Regions from separate parts of the Homo sapiens genome. Here region 1 is linked to region 2. The links are contacts of gene promoters, found by promoter capture Hi-C in human tissues and cell types (Jung and others, 2019). All regions are on one chromosome and are shown on one strand. The core of a region is centred on a gene start or on the middle of the fragment in contact, and the rest is flanking DNA. Distances in the headings are between cores, read along the strand shown. Region 1 has its middle 8.6 kb from the start of AMD1. Region 2 holds the start of SLC16A10 (solute carrier family 16 member 10).

Region 1 (2,700 bases), core at 32-2,531, 220 kb before region 2:
CCCTGCCCTTAACCTGGCTTGTCACAAATAAATGCCAAAATGCGTTTATAAAATAACACACAGATACCTTTGTTACTTGGAATCCAGCATACAGGCTGGCATTGTATGACTTACAAACTTAAACATCCACTCCTGGAAATAACACCTATTAGACCCCAGGGAAACACTTCACATCACTTGCTCTATGTCTACAAAACAAAAGGCAACCGAATACAAATGCCATAAAGCTTTATGGTTTCTGCAGCTGTTGAAGTAGGAGAAAGACCTTGCTTTGGAATGTGGGGAGGATTCCAAACAGCAGAAACAGATAAAAGACAAAATAATTAGCTTGTCAAATAAGTTCTTCCTCTCAGTGTGAATGCAATAGCTTTTGGCTTAATAGAGTATCTTTTCCTAGTGTCAAGCATTTTCTTGCTTTTCTTAGGACACCAGAGATGCCCACAAATTAGGATGAAATTTCAGATGGGTAGCTGAGGAACATTTTGCAAAACTGAGCAATTTTATATTATTCTTAAATGTTTGTATAGATGTAACAAAGTATGATACTGATTCTTCACATTTGTAGCAAAAGGGACATGGAATGTTAAAATTGCAGATAGTTTTTTTTGTTTGTTTATTTTCTTGAGTCTCACTCTGTCACCCAGTCTGAAGCACAGTGGCGTGATCTTGGCTCACTGCAACCTCCACCTCCCAGGTTCAAGCAATTCTCCTGCCTCAGCCTCCCGAGTAGCTCGGATTATAGGCGTGTGCCACCATGCCTGGCTAATTTTTGGATTTTTTAGCAGACACAGGGTTTCACCATGTTGGCCAGTCTGGTCTTGAACTCCTGACCTCAGGTGATCTATCCACCTCAGCCTCCCAAAGTGCTGGGATCACAGGCGTGAGCCACTGAGCCTGGCCCAAATTGCAGATAGTTTAATTCTATTAAAATGTTTAATAAGCTTTCATTAAATTTTCTTTTTTTCTTTCTTTCTTTTTTTTTGTTTGAGATAGAGTCTCACTCTGTTGCCCAGGCTAGAGTGCAGTGGTGCAATCTCGGCTCACTGCAACCTCTACCTCCTGGGTTCAAACAATTCCTCTGCCTCAGCCTCCTGAATAGCTGGGATTACAGGTTCCTGCCACCATGCCCAGCTAATTTTTGAATTTTCAGTAGAGATGAGGTTTCACCATGTTGGCCAGGCTGGTCTCGAACTCCTGACCTCAGGTGATCTGCCCGCCTCGGCCTCCCAAAGTGCTGGGATTACAGGTGTGACCCACCATGCCTGGCCTTCATTAAATTTTCAAAAAATTAAATTAAAAAACTTCAGCCTTATCTACATAATTTTAATTTTAAGTTTTATTAATTTTAGTTCATTTATTGATTGTTTTAAAGTTTTAATAGATAATCAAGGTTACAGGAAATACAGCTTTTGGAAATATCTGAAAATAATTTCCTGATTATTTTACAATTTCCATAAAATAATGGAAATGTAATATAAAATGGAAATGTAAAGGTTTTTTAACATGCACCTTAATTCATATTTTATACACTGTAGGGATCAAAAGAGGGCTTTCCCCTTGGCCCTCTGAAGGTTCACTGAAAATCACTGTCATGAGGCAGTTTAATGGAAGAGCAGGCATACAAATTTATTTAACAAGTACACAACGAGCACAAGAGGAAAATCACAAGTCATCGCCCACCCCCATTGTGATTCAGAAGCTTACAGACCACGCTAGCAAAACAGGTTGTGGAAGTAGGGAAAATAATTCTATTACTAGGGAGAATGAATGGATTAGGGAACAGGGATTAAACTGTACATGATCCTGTGAAAAGCTATGTTCAGGTGTAGTTACATTCCTGGCCTTCCAGGGAGGAGAAAAAAATTAATTTTTTTTGATGGTCTGGATCTTAGGAAGATAAAGGAACTCCTGTTTTTCAGAGGGTGGGGGAAGGGAGGGGTGTAAGTCAGAGAGACTTTGAGACTTCCTCAGTTCACCAAGCCATATATGGTGGTATCGGTTTCTGAGCTCCAACAACACTTTCTTTTTTTTTTTTTGAGACAGAGTTTCACTCTTGTTGCCCAGGCTGGAGTGCAATGGCGCAATCTTGGCTCACTGCAACCTCCGCCTCCCCGGTTCAAGCTAGTCTCCTGCCTCAGCCTCCCGAGTAGCTGGGATTACATGCGCCCAACATCGTGCCCAGCTAATTTTTTGTATTTTTAGTAGAGACGGGGTTTCACCGTGTTAGCCAGGATGGTCTCGATCTCCTGACCTCGTGATCCACCCGCCTCGGCCTCCCAAAGTGCTGGGATTACAGGCGTGAGCCACCGGGCCTGGCCCAACAACACTTTCTAAACAATTACTTTTTCTTTTCTTTTTTTCTTTTTTTTTTTAGAGACTCTCTCGCTCTCTTGCCTAGGCTGGAGTACAGTGGCTCAATCATAGCTCACTGTAACCTCAAATTCCTGGGTTCCGAGCAATCCTCCTGCCTCAGCTTCCCAAATAGCTGGGACTACAAGCATGAGCCACTGTGCTAGCCCAATTAGTTTTTTAATCATTTAAATAACAGAATAAGTATAGTTGAGATTATAACATAAAAAGTAAATACAGGCCAGGTGTGGTGGCTCACACCTGTAATCCCAGCACTTTGGGAGGCTGAGAGGGGGGATCACTTGAGGTCAGGAGTTAGAGACCAGCCTGGTCAACATGGCAAAACCCCAT
Region 2 (2,700 bases), core at 42-2,541:
ATACTTCCAAATTTTCCTTATTTCCAACAATACTGGGGTATCATCTTCATACATACATTTTTGTGCACTTATGTGCCTATTCCTTTGTTTACTATTTTACCCTCATTTCTAAGGCAGATTACACTTGAGCTATGTTCCCCATTCCACAACCAAGCACGGCTTGCTTTCCTTAGTTTATGCTATTTTCTCTACCTGGAATGCTCTTTTCCTGTCTTGACCCACTGAAGTCGTATGTATGAATCAGGGCTTCGGCCAAAGGCTGTTTGCTGTAGAGGCTCTTCTACAGTGTTTGGAGAGAATTTAAGGGACTATCTCATCTCTCTCTTTTGTACATGTATTATAACACATCATCTGAGCCTCCTAGTCTCTCCCAGGACTCTTTTTTCCTACCAGTTTATCAACTGATAAGAGGCAGAAACGAGATCAATCGCACTCATCTGTGTACTCTATCACAGTGGTGGGCACATCAAGTAACTAGCATATTTTGACTTTGATTGAAGTGAAGAATACGAATAACAGAAATTAAGAAGCATCCTCAATATTGCATAGCAGGTTACTCTTCTTTTCTTTTACATAGGATGGCACTCCATGCTTCAGGGAGACAGAGGAGTTGAATACAGGTTTTAGTTTTTGTTTAAAGTGAAAACGACTCTGATGTAGTTGAAAAGTAATGCTTTCTAGCTGTCTGTTAAAAATGTTTGTTGGTTGAAGACTTCGGAATTGCAGTCCAGTGAGGACTGAAAATAAGCATCTTTGGTGTGCCAAATATTCATAAGGAAATTGTATACGAATGCAAGAGAATGGAACTGAAGTAATAAAATAAGGGCTCTGATCCTTCAGATGACTTATTTAAGAAGCCAGGTGGCATAACGAATCTTACATATTATAATTAGTACTGAGAGGTGAATGCCAAAACATAAAACAAACACAATCGAGACAATGTTAGTGTGACTGTGACGCTGTGTCGGTGAGTTGAGGCTAACGATCCAGTGTGGCTCTCCTGAAGGCCCACCGCGCCCGCACCTAGGAGACGCGCCCCTTCTGCTCATGCTTTGAGGCGGGGTGACCCACACATCTGTGCCCCTCTCTGAGCAGGAGGAGGCCCCGTCGCAGACGCGCGCGCAGACAGCGTCTGCCGCGGGCACCTGGGGCCGCGCGCCGCGGGGCGCCCCGCCTCCGCTCTCCGAGGCCCAATCATCTGGAGGCTGTGGGGGCACGTCCCGCTCCCGGCCACGCCCCCAGCCGGCGGGGCGGGGGGTGCTTTTAAGAACCGGCGGCTGGCAGTGGGCTCAGTCGGGGGTGCGGGGCTGTGACCTAGAGGCTTCAGTGTCGATCCCCGAGGTGTTCGCGCGCGCCAGCTGTCCTCGCGGCCGCCTGCGCGCTGGCCGCCTGCGCGCTGCCAGCCCGCCCGCCCGCCAGGGGCTCCGCCGCCCTCGCCTCGGCCTCGTTAGCCCGCCAGGAGCCCCGCAGCTCCTCCGGGAGCCCGCTGGTAACTCGCGTCCCTCGCGCTTCTCCGGCGCCTGAGGGGCCCGCCTCGGGCCATGGTGCTCTCCCAGGAGGAGCCGGACTCCGCGCGGGGCACGAGCGAGGCGCAGCCGCTCGGCCCCGCGCCCACGGGGGCCGCTCCGCCGCCCGGCCCGGGACCCTCGGACAGCCCCGAGGCGGCTGTCGAGAAGGTGGAGGTGGAGCTGGCGGGGCCGGCGACCGCGGAGCCCCATGAGCCCCCCGAACCCCCCGAGGGCGGCTGGGGCTGGCTGGTGATGCTGGCGGCCATGTGGTGCAACGGGTCGGTGTTCGGCATCCAGAACGCTTGCGGGGTGCTCTTCGTGTCCATGCTGGAAACCTTCGGCTCCAAAGACGATGACAAGATGGTCTTTAAGACAGGTGAGGCGCGGCGCCCGCCGAGGCCAGCCTGGGCGACCCGCGTGGGGCCCCCGAGCGCATCCCGCGTGTGGGCTGTGTCTGCCTCCGAGTGTGCATGTCGGTGGGTCCCTGTGCCAGAGGGTGCGAGCAGGGGGGTCTTTCGAGTTGCAGACAGAGCCTGCCGCTTCTGGGGCCTCGGGGTGCCCGTCTTTATATGGAATCCAGCTGCAGAGCTGTGTGTTTGCAAGCAGGTCGCAGAACTTACTTGCCGAGATCGTCCTCCTTTCCCCTCAGCAGAGCAGACGCTAACAGTCCACAGGAGCCCTTCCTTTTATTGTTTGAAAACAAACAGAACCCCAGAACCTTCAACCCCAGTCATCGCCCTGTCATTTTTGTGGTCTCTTTCGTGACTATGCCAGTTATGTAGTTCTTCACCTGCCTCCCTGGGCCGCAGAGGGGTGTGCGTATGTTGGCGGGGCGGGGGGTGGAGTTTGGAGGAATGAAAGAGATTTGTACGAAGGTCACTGGAGTTCCAAAGGGGGCCCTGCAAGAGTCACGGTTCCGTGCGTTCCCGTCCCCCCGCCTTTTTTTGCCCTCTGGGTTAAATGTAGAAAACACGGGAGGCAGCCGGATTAGGGACTAGGATGAGGAAGGTGAAGGGTTGCTTCTTCCCTCTTCCTGTTGTGTTTTTTGACATTTTTTTTTAACCATATAGTAAATTAGATACAAAAGGTGCAGATTCAGCGTTTTCTCCCTGTAGAGCATTATTATGACTTTTTGGCTGGTTAGGCAAAAAACAAATCTAAGACCTTCTGCATGACACTTTAACATAAATTC

The links. The method cuts DNA at HindIII sites, captures the fragments that hold promoters and counts their contacts. A contact is called where the count stands out against the background at its distance.
Region 1: a contact is called between a fragment that was not itself captured here and the fragment with the promoter of SLC16A10 in region 2, in 1 of the 25 tissues and cell types used here (liver).

The regions. Positions count from the first base shown.
Region 1 is chr6:110,864,795-110,867,494 of GRCh38, forward strand. It overlaps a transcript of AMD1 not described here. Among named protein-coding and RNA genes, the nearest start is that of AMD1, 8.6 kb to the right of the region's middle. RefSeq lists a silencer at 1,612-1,906. The HindIII fragment of the contact is 5,977 bases long and covers 1-2,700 here.
Region 2 is chr6:111,086,212-111,088,911 of GRCh38, forward strand. SLC16A10 (solute carrier family 16 member 10) reads left to right here and starts at 1,292. Exons shown (of 6, transcript NM_018593.5): 1 at 1,292-1,884. The coding sequence starts at 1,542. RefSeq lists silencers at 973-1,652, 1,683-1,862 and an enhancer at 1,675-2,175. The HindIII fragment of the contact is 15,668 bases long and covers 1-2,700 here.